Regions from separate parts of the Homo sapiens genome. Here regions 1, 3 and 4 are each linked to region 2. Evidence: promoter capture Hi-C in human tissues and cell types (Jung and others, 2019). All regions are on one chromosome and are shown on one strand. Each heading gives the region's core, a stretch centred on a gene start or on the middle of the fragment in contact. The rest is flanking DNA. Distances are from core to core; before and after follow the strand shown.

Region 1 (3,002 bases), core at 93-2,592, 570 kb after region 2:
AAATTTACAGAATTTCTGACTCTGGGCGGGGGTGGATAATATGTGGAAATGGACAAACAAAAACTTTGAGACAAATTGACCCATTGAGAAGATTTCCAATGATGATAGGCTGTCTCTGTTCTAAGAAAAGCCATGTTACAATTCGTCCTTTTACTGGAGTCTTGAATGAAACTGTTCAGTTACTTTGGATTCTTCCTACTATATGCTTTTCAGATAGCATATTAAAGTTATAAATTTTGAAGTGTATTGGAAGAAAAACCCTAAATCTCCAGGCCAATGTTTGTAAATAGAAGTCCTTGGCACTCCTGCAGCAGTTTACAATGGTCATTCACATGCGTAATGAATGCTTACAGCAGCCCAAGGATGCAGGTGTTATCCCCATTTCCCCCCATTTTTCAGACAAGCAGTGACCAAGATTTGCTCACTGCCAGAGCTGGGACTCCAGCCTAGAACTTCCCTACTCCCTACTTCCCTAGAAGTCCAGTGCTTTTTGCTACTACAGCTGCCAGAGATGTCATTTCATAGCTGGTTATGTATTGAAAGTTCTTAAAAGTGAGTTAAAAATGAAAATCTTATTGAAATCAAGTGCTTTTCACAAAATATGCTGTACTCAAAACACAAATGTATCACATTCCCAACTTGTGTTTTCATCTATGATGGAGAGATAAGGAAAGCCATGTGATTAATATGGGTAGAAGGGCTGAGGACCCTCTGATAATTGCCATTTGGTCTCTACCTTTTGCCTTGCTGTCAGCAATACCTTCCTCTCCTTTCTGCAATATCCCCTTCCAAATGCTCTCCCCACTGAGCACTCCCTGCAGTATTAAGTTTTCAGATAAAGAAGTAGCTCCTATCTGAGACAGAAAGCACTATTTGTTAGGTTCAGAACAGTGGCTTGGGAGGGGATTGACCAGAAGGTACTGTTTTTGATGGGTTTCTATTATTAGCTGAACAGTCTTCAGTTGTTTTCTCACCATAACATGAGAGATTTAATAAGGTTAGTAGGTTATTGGCTTATTTCCGGTCCTGCCACATTTTTTTCTTTCATTAAAAATGCTATCTTCTGTTGTGGAATGTCTGTCATCTTGAACTAATCAACAAAAATACTATGTTTTTCTGCCGTTAACTATGTGTTGGCAATTTGAGAGAAAATACTAGAATGTAGGTTTGAAAATGATACAAATTAGACTTCAAGGAATACTTAAGAAGATTTGTGGCAGGAAAGGCTTGTGAGTAATTTAGTTGTTAGGCTGGGTTAGGCATCTGTGGATTACATCAAAGAGGATGTGCAGAGATTTTATCGGGAGCAGTGAGGTGACTTTGGCAGCTAACAGGCCACTAGTATCCTACTAAAGCTTTTGTCTGGATAGGAGCAACATGCATGTTTACAGTCTTGCAGGTAAGAGACCTTGGCAAATAATCCTCAGTTACCAGAAGATGTATCCATAACTGCCTAGCTTGCCTGTCAGTTTTTAATAGCTAAAGATATAAATCTGGGTAATCTAACTCAAATGGCTTAGTTTCATTTTAACTCAAATGATATGGGGAATTTTATGATCTTGAAAGAGCAGGTTTTGCTTCGAGAAGCCATTTCTTCAGTATGGAATAATGAGTTGTCAGGAAGATTGAGTACAATGGGCATTTGCCCTGGTCCTAATCAACAGCATTTGGACCCAGAGGAAGCCAGCTATTTTTGTAAGGGCCATTTCTCATCATTAAGTTTCCAAGTGCTTTTTTAGGGTTTGTCTAGTAAAAAGCACTATTTTGAAAAACAAGCATAGTAAGGGTAGGGGGTTGTGGCATTTAATAGTACGTTTTAAAAAGCTAATGGAAATACTTTTAAAACAAGATTTAGGACAAATTCCTTAGGCATCAGTCACACTAATGCATCTTCTGAGTCAAGAACTGGCTATCCTTTCTGTGTACTCAGTCCGGAATTGCATGTGGTGGGTGCTTACTTATTTGCAGTCTCAATCAAGAATTCTCACTCTCAAGATAGCAGAAATAGATAAGCTTCAACTGACAAATTTGGTACAGAAGTCATGGAAAGGAAGGTAAGTCTTTTGCCAGGCATCATGCCAGGCATCAGCATCTTTCAGGACTAAGGAAACAAAAGAGGAAAACTCGATTTTACTACATGTTAACTCTACTGAATACCTCCTTGAATGTCAGATTCCTTATCTGTAAAACAAAGGTTTTGCATTTGATTATCTCTAAGATCCGCTTCTGCCCCCAGTTTTAAAGTTTGATAGGGAAAGAGGTTTAAGTCAGGATACCAGGCCAGGGAGGAAAGGAAGGGAGGGCACAGGCCTCTGGAGTTCAGCTGCCTCCCCCATTAGGATTGAAGTCCCAGCTGCTGGCTACTGCCTTGAGGGAGGTATCAGCCTTTTACTTCTGGATCTTGGCCTCTCCTTGTTCTACCCCTTCCCAACAACAACTGAACATACCAAGTGCTTGCTATGGCCCAAGCACTGTTGCAGGTGAAGCTGCAGCATGAACAAGATAAGCAACATCTCTGCTCCCCAGGCCCTCTGCAGACATGACACCTGCGGGAGACAGACACTGAGCAAGCCAGTGGATACAAGAACTGGGAAAATGAGAAGTGCTATGAGGGCAAGAAGTTGCAACTGTTTTCTTAGCTACCTGGAGGGAGGGAAAATCATTTTCTGGAAGTTTTTTTCTATGAGTTTTGTCTTAGCTTTGGCTGTCATAACAAAGTACCATAGACAGTGGCTTAAACAACAGAAATGTATTTTCTCATACAGTTCTGGAGGCTGGAAGTTGAAGATTGGGATGCCAGCATGGTTGGGTTCTTGCGAGGGTTCTCTTCCTGGCTTTCAGATGGCCGCGTTTTCACTGTGCCATCATCTGGCAGGGAGAGAGAGAACACATGAACTCTGATGGCTCTTACCCAGACGCTAATGACATCTTGAGGCCTCTACCTCATGACCTTAACCCAGTTACCTCCCAAAGGCCCCATCTTCAAATGCCATCAACAATGG
Region 2 (3,220 bases), core at 423-2,922:
ACTGCCTTTTCGGTTTTAATGATTTTATTGGTTTTCTTAAAAATAACATTTGACGTATCAAATGCAAACTGCGTATTTTCAAATGTCAGAAGTGAAACATGGAGAACTCTGCACCCATCCAGACTTTCTTGCATCCACACCACAAATGGTTTTTTGGTTCATAGCTAAAATTGTATTACATTTATTTTTACCTAGCGTTTTTGCTTTCTACCAACATATATATATGTAGAATATACATAAAAACTTTATTTTTCATTGCTATATTCACAGACCTCAGAAGAGTTGCACCGCACAAGAAAAGGCACTCAATCTCACTCATTCTTCCTAACATCTCAACAGCATCTTGCGATACGAATGTCTTACCATTCAACCATTTCAGTGCTGACGAACTTGTCAAACTTTCCCCACGAAAACAACCAAACCTCAAACTGACATCACCAGCCCAGATGTTTTCCCCTAAGCTTCAAATCTGAAATACTGAACTGCCCGATCTACACAACTGCATTATCAGGTCTAATAGACAACGCAAGCTTCGCACAGCCCAAACCGGAAATCTTTAGTCCTTCCCCAAGAAACTTTCTTAACATCTTATTTAAACCAAAACCCCACATTCAATCTATTAGCCAGTCCTTCCTGTTCTACCTTCACAATTTCTATCGATATTTGTTTCTCTCCATACCAGGCAATTTCATCTTGTCCAAATGAATGCAAAAGTATTCTTGCTGCCGTTCTTATCTCCTCGAGTCTAATCTCCACACAGCAGAGTAACCGTATTAAGACAAATTAGCAGGTCATTCCTCTGCTTAAATCCTTTCGATTGGCCGAGCACGGTGGCTCACGCCTGTAATCCCAGCACTTTGGGAGGCCGAGGCAGGTGGATCGCTTGAGGTCAGGAGTTCAAGACCAGCCTGGCCAACATGGTGAAACCCCGTCTCTACTAAAAGCAAACAAACAAACAAAAACAACTAGCCAGGCGTGGTGGTGGATGGAGGCCTGTAATCCCAGCTACTCGGGAGGCCAAGGCAGGAGAATCGCTTGAACCCGGGAGACGGAGGTTGCAGTGAGCCAAGATTGCGCCACTGCACTCCAGCATGGGCAACAAGAGCGAAACTCCATCTCAAAAAAAAAAAAAATCTTTCGATCATTCCTCAAAACATCTAGAATAAAGTCCGAATTCCCTATAATCTGTTAAATTCTAACACGCCTCCTGCCCACCCCTTCAACGGGAGGAAATAAAATCCTCTAATGCAGAACGGGTCTCCCCAAACGGCGGGGCCACGTGTTACACGTAACATGGCTCTCAGGTGTAAAGGCCTTCTCCCTCCTCCCAGAGCCCGGGCTATAACAGGCACCCACGCTACTCTGAGTAGTTCCGTGCTTAAGTCTTTCCCTCTCCTCGTCTGTCCAGCATCCGCCTTCCCCCTTTAACGGCTCGCTCTCCCACCTACCTTAAAGATGGCGTAACCCACAGACGTTTCAAACAGCACCAACATGGTGAGGCCGGGTCAGGGCGCCGCACGGCCTGCCAGAAGCTGTAGAGTCAGTTCAAAAACACCGACTACGCGGCCTCAAAAGGCCTCCTAGGCCGCGGCGGGCAAAGCACAAATGCGCTCGCCGTCCCGCAAAGAATCAGAACACGCTGCCTAAACCCTCCACGCTGTACTGGAACTAGGACGCACGAACGCGCTACTCCTTCTCTGAGGATTCTGGGATAGCAACGTCACTTCCGACAGAAGACTGCCGCAGAGATTGCCGTCACTTCCAGAATGTTCCCGCCACAGCGGGCTGGGGCGGGCCGAGAAAGTTTGTATCGCGGGATCTAGGGCCTGAACGGAGCCTTTGCGCCTTTTTTTCTTTTTTCTTTTTTTCTTTTTTGGAGACGGAGTCTCGCTCTGTAACCCAGGCTGGAGTGCAGTGGTGTGATCTCGGCTTACTGCAACCTCCGCCTCCCGGGTTCAAGAAATTCTCCTAGCCGGGCGCAGTGGCTCACGCCTGTAATCCCAGCACTTTGGGAGGCCGAGGCGGGCGGATCACAAGGTCAGGAGATCGATCGAGACCATCCTGGCTAACACGGTGAAACTCCGTCTCTACTAAAAATACAAAAAATTAGCCGGGTGTGGTTGCAGGCGCCTGTAGTCCCAGCTACTCGGGAGGCTGAGGCAGGAGAATGGCCTGAACCCAGGGGGCGGAGCTTGCAGTGAACCAAGATCCTGCCACTGCACTCCAGCCTGGGCGACAGAGCGAGACTCCGTCTCAAAAAAAAAAAAAAAAAAAGAAATTCTCCTGCCTCAGCCTCCCCAGTAGCTGGGACTAGAGGCACACACCACCACGCCCAGCTAATTTTTGTATTTTTAGTAGAGATGGGGTTTCAGCATGTTGGCCAGGATAGTCTCGATCTCTTGACCTCGTGATACGCCCGCCTCGGCCTCCCAAAGTGCTGGGATTACAGGCGTGACCCACTAGGCCCGGCCTTTTTTTTTTTTTTTTTTTTTTTTTTTTTTTTTTTTGAGACAGTCTGGCTGTTGCCCAAGCTGGAGTGCAGTGGCACTATCACGGCTCACTGCAACCTCCAACTCCCAGGCTCAAGCGATCCTCCCACTTCACCCTCCGGAGCAGCTGGGACTACAGGCCTGTGCCACCACACCCAGCTAATTTTTTGTAGAGACAGGGTTTCACGATGTTGCCCAGGCTGGTCTCGGACTCTTGACCTCAAGGGATCCTCCCACCTCGGCCTCCCAAAGTGCTGGGATTACAGGCGTGAGCCACCGCGCCCCGCCACCGCTAGAGATTTAAAGGGGAAAAACTTCACGATATTATTTTGTTAACCCTCTATGAATTATATGTTCACTTTGAGAGAAACGAGGAGCTGTTTCGGTGCCAGTCTGCCTCAGGCATCTAGAATTTGAAATGCCAGCTAGTGCCATTAGACTTTATCCCCTTTCAAGCCCTGCCTTGAGGCGAAGGCCTCAGAATGACACCATTACTGTCACTATATTTGTGAGCATTCCTGGCCGTTCCCTTCTGTCTGGCCAAATGAATTATTAGCACAGTTTTCTTTCAATAAGCCTCTCCTATTTTTGCTGCATTTGTTAAAATGACCCCAGGGTATGAATTTAGAATGTCTTTTTTTTTTTCTTTTTCTTCTTTGTTTTTTTTGAGACGGAGTTTCACTCTTGTTGCCTAGGCTGGAGTGCAGTGGTATGATCTCTGCTTACTGCAA
Region 3 (3,042 bases), core at 403-2,902, 760 kb before region 2:
AATTCTATTTTCTTTTTGAAACAAAACTTTTATTCTGAAAAGGAAGTTTACTCTGAGCTCACTGCAAAACTATCTATTTCAGTCATATTCCAGATTTAGCAGGACAAAGGGCAACAGCAGGAAATGGAGCATCATCAACATCCAAAATAAATTTGGTTTAGAGTAGGGAGGACCCTCAAATCATTATTCAAGATAATTAAGCACTATCCTTGAAAGCAAAAATAAGTACAGATTTAAAATCAGTTAAGACATTCTCGGTTAAGACATTAATGAATACAGCTTCATTACTACTGATAAAATAGTAAGAGAATATTGCCCTCTATTATTATATTAATACAAGGGCAAATGGAAGTAATCCTGATACACACATGTCCACACCCACACATCTGCAAAATACTTATAAAGATTACATTTTTATCTCTCTTCCTCTTAAAATACATTTAAATAAAATCTCTTTTCTAAAAAATTTTGACAGATATGTAAAATAGTTATGTTTTTCCATTTGACAGATGAGAAAACTGAGATACAAAGAAACTAGGTTAACCTTTTAGGTCCTTAAGATCAGACACAGAATTGGGACTAAATATCACCTCTAATACTGCAGCTTCACAAAACTGTTCAGGGCAAAATTCAATCTCAATAAAATAAAATAAAATAAAAAATTTTTTAAAGCTAATGACAAAAATGAACCATGGTTTTCAATCTACACTGCCACATTTCAAAATGCTGTGCTTTTGAGTCACTTTGTATGTTTTTACTCAGTTAACGCATTTGATACTTTACACCAGACAGAACAAAAATAGCTTAATCTTATCTAAGACTTTGAGAGGCTCAGTTTCTTTTTTCTACATATTCTAGTGACCAACTAACTGCAGCACTCCCAAAAGGCTAAGTGTCTAATAGAAATACGTCCTTAAGTCTGTCCAAGGGTTGCAGTTGAGATAGGGAATTTATGATACATGTCTTTTTCTTTTTCTTTCTTTTTTTTTTTTTTGAAACAGAGTCTTGCTCTGTCGCCCAGGCTACAGTGTAGTGGCGAGATCTCAGGTCACTGCAACTTCTGCCTCCCGGATTCAAGTGATTCTCCTGCCTCAGCCTCCCGAGTAGGTGGGATTACAGGTGCCCGCCACCGTGCCTGGCTAATTTTTTTTGTATTTTTAGTAAAGACGGGGTTTCACCATTTTGGCCACGCTGGTCTCAAACTCCTGACCTCATGATCCACCCACCTTGGTCTCCCAAAGTGCTGGGATTACAGGCGTGAGCCACTGTGCCCAGCCGATACATGTCTTTTTCTACACACATATGAGTCTCAAAACTTTGTATATAATAATATAGAAACAAAAATTGTTCTCAGCACCATCTCTCTTACTGTATGTTAAAAGTGAATTATCAAAAAATACAGTGAATAACATGGTGCCTACTACATATATATAAACTAATTTTTTTTTTTTAAATGGGGTCTCACTCTGTCACCCAGGCTGGAGTGTAGTGGCACGATCTCAGCTCAATGCAACCTACACTTCCCGGGTTCAAGCAATCCTCCCACCCTATCTCCTGAGTAGCTGGGACCACAGGTGTGCACCATCATGCCTGGCTAATTTTTTTGTATTTTTGGTAGAGATGGGGTTTCACCATGTTGCCCAGGTTGGTCTCAAACTCCCAAGCTCAAGTGATCCACCTGCCTCAGCCTCCCAAAGTGTTGGGATTACAGGCATGAGCCACCACACCTGCCCTGAAATCTTTAGACATTAAAAAAAATACTGGGCTGGGCGCAGTGGCTCACGCCTGTAATCCCAGCACTTTGGGAGGCTGAAGAGGGTGGATCGCCTGAGGTCAGGAGTTCAAGACCAGCCCGGCCAACATGGTGAAACCCCATCTCTATTAAAAACAGGAGTTCAAGACCAGCCTGACCAACATGGTGAAACCCCGTCACTACTAAAAATACAAAAATTTAGCTGGGCCTGGTGGCATGTGCCTGTAAATACCAGCTACTCGGGAGGCTGAGGGAGGCAGGAGAATAGCTTGCACCCAGAAGGTTGGAGGTTGTGGTGAGCTGAGATTGGGCCACTGCACTCCAGTTTGGGCCACAGAGTGAGACTCCGTCTCCAAAACAAACAAACAAAAAACTGTATACTTAAGTACTAGTATTAAAATACTTCTATACTTAAGAAAAATACACTCAGACAAGAAGTAGTTAACTACTGAACTAAAATCCAGATACAAGATTAAACCTGTTCAAATTAATGTTTAACTTATAAGAGCTATAAGAAATGTGCTGTTAATCAAATCCTTGACCCTGGGTGGGGACAACCATTTGAAGGCAAGAAGAGTTCAGACTATATAATTTGGGGTTTTTCTTTTTTTTTTTTTTTTTGAGACAGAGTCTCACTCTGTCACCCAGGCTGGAAGGCAATGGCGTAATCTCGGCTCACTGCAACCTCTGTTTCCTAAGTTCAAGCGATTCTCCTGCCTCAGCCTCCTGAGTAGCTGGGATTACAGGTGCATGCCACCATGCCCGGCTAATTTTTGTATTTTTAGTAGAGACGGGGTCTCACCATGCTGGCCAAGCTGGTTTCAAACTCCTGATCTCAAATGATCCATCCACCTCAGCCTTCCAGTGAGCCTTACAGACATAAGCCACTGCGCCTAGGTTCAGACTATACAACTTGAATTAATAGTCTTATACACTGGTGAAAGAATCTTTAGAAAGCAGGACTGTTGGGTGATTAGAAATCATCCTGCTTGTATTATACAATAACAACATAAGGTTTACAAAGTAACCTTTTAGGAAGAAGACACATGTTTCTAACAATTTAATTAAAGCCTATTCCTAGAAGGAGAAAGTGAAGTTAGACCTGAAAAGTTTGGTAAGAAACCAAATTGCACATCACAAAGAAATGGTAAGTATGTGAGGTGACAGATATGTTAATTAGCCTGATTTGATGATTCCACAATGTATCAAAACATTACATTGTACCCCATAAATTATTATCAATTAAAATTATTATCAATTAAAATTATTTATCAATTAAAATTATCAGA
Region 4 (3,119 bases), core at 402-2,901, 580 kb before region 2:
TAATCACATAGGTCTTCTTAAGGGGAAGGCAGAAAGGTCAGAAGAAGATAAGACAATGTGATGACATATAGAATTAGAGAAAGATTAGAAGATGCTATGCTGCTGGCCTTAAAGATGGAGGAAGGGGGACCACATGCCAGGAAATGTAAGTGGCTTCTAAAAGCTATAAAAGACAATGAAATGGATTCTCCTTTGTAGCCTCCAGAAGAAATGCAGCCGTCTGACAACTTTATTTTAGGACTCTGACCTCCAGAATGGGAAGACAGTAAATTAATTTTGTTGTAAGTTACTAAGTTTGTGATCATTTTTTATAGCAGCAGTAGGAAATTAATACACAGGGAATATATCTTTCTCATTCTTGACGTTTCCTCCTATGTTAAAGGAGCTCAATTAGTTTAACTCCTAGTCTCTCTCTACCCTCTCATTTCTTTCTAGAGGAGGAGTGGCTTGTCTGGTAAATTTGGGAAGCAAAAATTGGGCAAGTTTATCTCAATTCCTTCTTTCTTCTCTCATACAGGGAAGCCTCTGGTGATTCAGTTACCTCTGACTGGCTTGTTGAATTTAATTTTAGTGCTCGGTTATGAAGATTATTTGGCTCTCACAGTAAGCTATATCCAGAAACTTGACCATTGTCAGTAGCAAAAATTATATGTTGGCCTCCAGCTGCTACTCCTTATTTGTTTATTTTTTATTTTTTTAATTTTAATTTTCTTTTTTTATAGATTTTTTGAGATGGGGTCTCACTGTGTCCCTCTGGCTGTAGTGCAGTGGCACATTCATAGCTCACTACAGCCTCAAACTCCTGGGCTCAAGTGATCCTCCCACTTCAGCATCCCAGGTAGCTGGGACTACAGGCATATGCCACAATGTATGGCTAATTTTTTTATTTTTGGTAGAGATGGGGTCTCACTTTGTTGCTGAGGCTGGTACACCAATCCTTTGACACAGCAAATCCAATTCTGGATTTTTATCCAAGAGAAATGAAAACATTTTTCTGCAAAAATACTTGTATAGGTATGTTCATAACAGCCTTATTTACAATAGTCCCAAACTGGAAACACTGGTATATTGATACAATGGAATTCTATTCAACAATCAAAAAGAATAAACTGGGAAAAGCTAAGGAAAAAAAACACATTCATTGCTTCTGATAAGGTAGGGATTGGCAAGAAAGTGATACAAGGAAACTTTCTGGGAAGTTGGAAATGTTCTATATAAGATATCCATTTGTCAAAAGTATACAGCTAAAGAGTTTGCACCCTGGGCCCTAGAGCCAAGCTCTTGCTGTGTGTGGCTGAACGCTGGGTACCAGCTCTGCTGCCACAGAGATCTTGGCTTTACCCCAATCCTAGAGCTACTCTAATGCTGCACTCACTAGTGCTCTTATTCTCAGTTCTCTTAGCTGTTTAACAAGCATCTGCATCTCGCATTCTGTTACACAGCAGCAAGGATCCCTGCATCCCAGACACCAATGCCATTACTACCTGGGAACTCAGAACTGCAGTACCTCCACACATTTGTGCATCAGGCCTGAGTTCTGTGATTATTCCATGGGTGCTACTCATCAGGCACCAGTGCCAAGAGGGATCCCTTCAGCCATAGCTTCTCTGATGGGAAAAAAAATAGATTGGGGTGATCTTAGCAGTCATTGCCACCAAAGACCCCAACAACTCTTGCGCCACTGCAGAAACTCAGAACGTTGGTTGCTATGGATCCCTGTGATTTTTATCCATACCAATCTCAGCAGACAGAGCTGCACAGAGACCACACAGCTGGCACCCTGACTAGTGCCAGAACCACTGCACCCCACCCCATGGAGGAAAGTCAGTCCACAATGAAACTAGCCCATAAAGTCTACAAAAGGTAACTGTTCCACTAAGAGCACAGACATTAATGTAAGGCAACAAGAAAAATGGGAGACATAATACCACCTAAAAAACATAACCTCCCAGTAGCTGACCCCAAAGAAATGGACATATATAAACTGCCTCTCAAATAATATAAAATAATTGCTTTAAGTTTAGTGAATTTAAAGAAAAATACAGAGAAACATTTCACTGAAATCAGCAAAACAATAGATGACCAAAATAAGAAATGTAACAGATTAAAATTATTTTTTTAAAAAAATCAAATTCTGGAGCTGAAAAATACAATTAATGAACTAAAAAATGCAGTAGAGAGCATTAACAGCAGACTTGATGAAGCAGAAGAATTAATATGTGAACTCAAAGACAGATTATTTCAAAACATACAGTCAGAGAAGAAAAAATGAAGCTTAGAAGATTTAAAGCTTATAAGATTTTCTCAAAAGAGCAAATATCCTAGTTATAGGAGTTTAAGCAGAAGAAGAGAGGGACAAAGGACCAGAAAGTTTACTTAAATAAATAATAGCAGAAAAATTTCCAAATCTGAGGAAAGGTATAAATATCCAGGTATGAGAAGGTCAAAGGTCTCCAATCAGATTCAACCTGAACAAGATTACACTAAGATATAATCAAACTGTCAAAAATCAAAGATGAAGAGAGCATCCTGAAAGTAGCAAGAGAAAAGCAAATCACATACAAAGGAGTTCCAATAAGGCTAGAAGTGGATTCTCAGGAGAAACCTACAGGCCAGTAGAGAGTGGGATGATAAATTCCATGTGCTGAAGGAAAAAATAAAACTGTCAAACAACAATACTTTACTTGACAAAGTAGACCTCCAGAAATGATGGAGATAAAAGCTTTCTCAAACAAAAACTGAGGTAGTTCATCACCACCAGATGTGTCTTACAAGAAATGATAAAGGGAGTTCTTCAAGCTGAGAGGAAAGGATGCTAATGAGTAACACAAAAACATCTAAAAGTATAAAACTCATTGGTACAATTACACAAATTTAGAATAATAGTATAATGGTGGGTCTTTAATATGAATGTTAAAAAACAAAACTATTAAAAATAATGGCTGCAATAGGCCTGGTGCGGTGGCCCATGCCTGTAATCCCAGCACTTTGGGAGGCTGAGGCAGGCAGATCACCTGAGGTCAGGAGTTCGAGACCAGCCTGGCCAACATGGTGAAACCTCGTCTTCACTAAAAAAAAATACCAAAATTAGCTGGGCCTGGTGGTAGGTGCCTGTAATC

What was found. Contacts are between HindIII fragments. The study calls those that stand out against the background at their distance.
Region 1: the fragment with the promoter of MPP4 here is called in contact with the fragment with the promoter of NOP58 in region 2 in 1 of the 25 tissues and cell types used here (H1 embryonic stem cells).
Region 3: a contact is called between a fragment that was not itself captured here and the fragment with the promoter of NOP58 in region 2, in 1 of the 25 tissues and cell types used here (liver).
Region 4: a contact is called between a fragment that was not itself captured here and the fragment with the promoter of NOP58 in region 2, in 1 of the 25 tissues and cell types used here (aorta).

The regions. Positions count from the first base shown.
Region 1 is chr2:201,696,984-201,699,985 of GRCh38, reverse strand. It overlaps MPP4 (MAGUK p55 scaffold protein 4), which reads left to right and starts at 1,342. Exons shown (of 22, transcript NM_033066.3): 1 at 1,342-1,399. RefSeq lists enhancers at 1-210, 211-712. The HindIII fragment of the contact is 2,902 bases long and covers 1-1,684 here.
Region 2 is chr2:202,264,215-202,267,434 of GRCh38, reverse strand. NOP58 (NOP58 ribonucleoprotein) reads right to left here and starts at 1,672. Exons shown (of 15, transcript NM_015934.5): 1 at 1,449-1,672. The coding sequence starts at 1,493. The HindIII fragment of the contact is 22,419 bases long and covers 1-3,220 here.
Region 3 is chr2:203,020,003-203,023,044 of GRCh38, reverse strand. The region is part of intron 2 of NBEAL1 (neurobeachin like 1); the gene reads right to left. Among named protein-coding and RNA genes, the nearest start is that of NBEAL1, 6.6 kb to the right of the region's middle. The HindIII fragment of the contact is 6,368 bases long and covers 1-3,042 here.
Region 4 is chr2:202,841,986-202,845,104 of GRCh38, reverse strand. The region is part of intron 1 of ICA1L (islet cell autoantigen 1 like); the gene reads left to right. Among named protein-coding and RNA genes, the nearest start is that of ICA1L, 28 kb to the left of the region's middle. The HindIII fragment of the contact is 3,353 bases long and covers 1-3,119 here.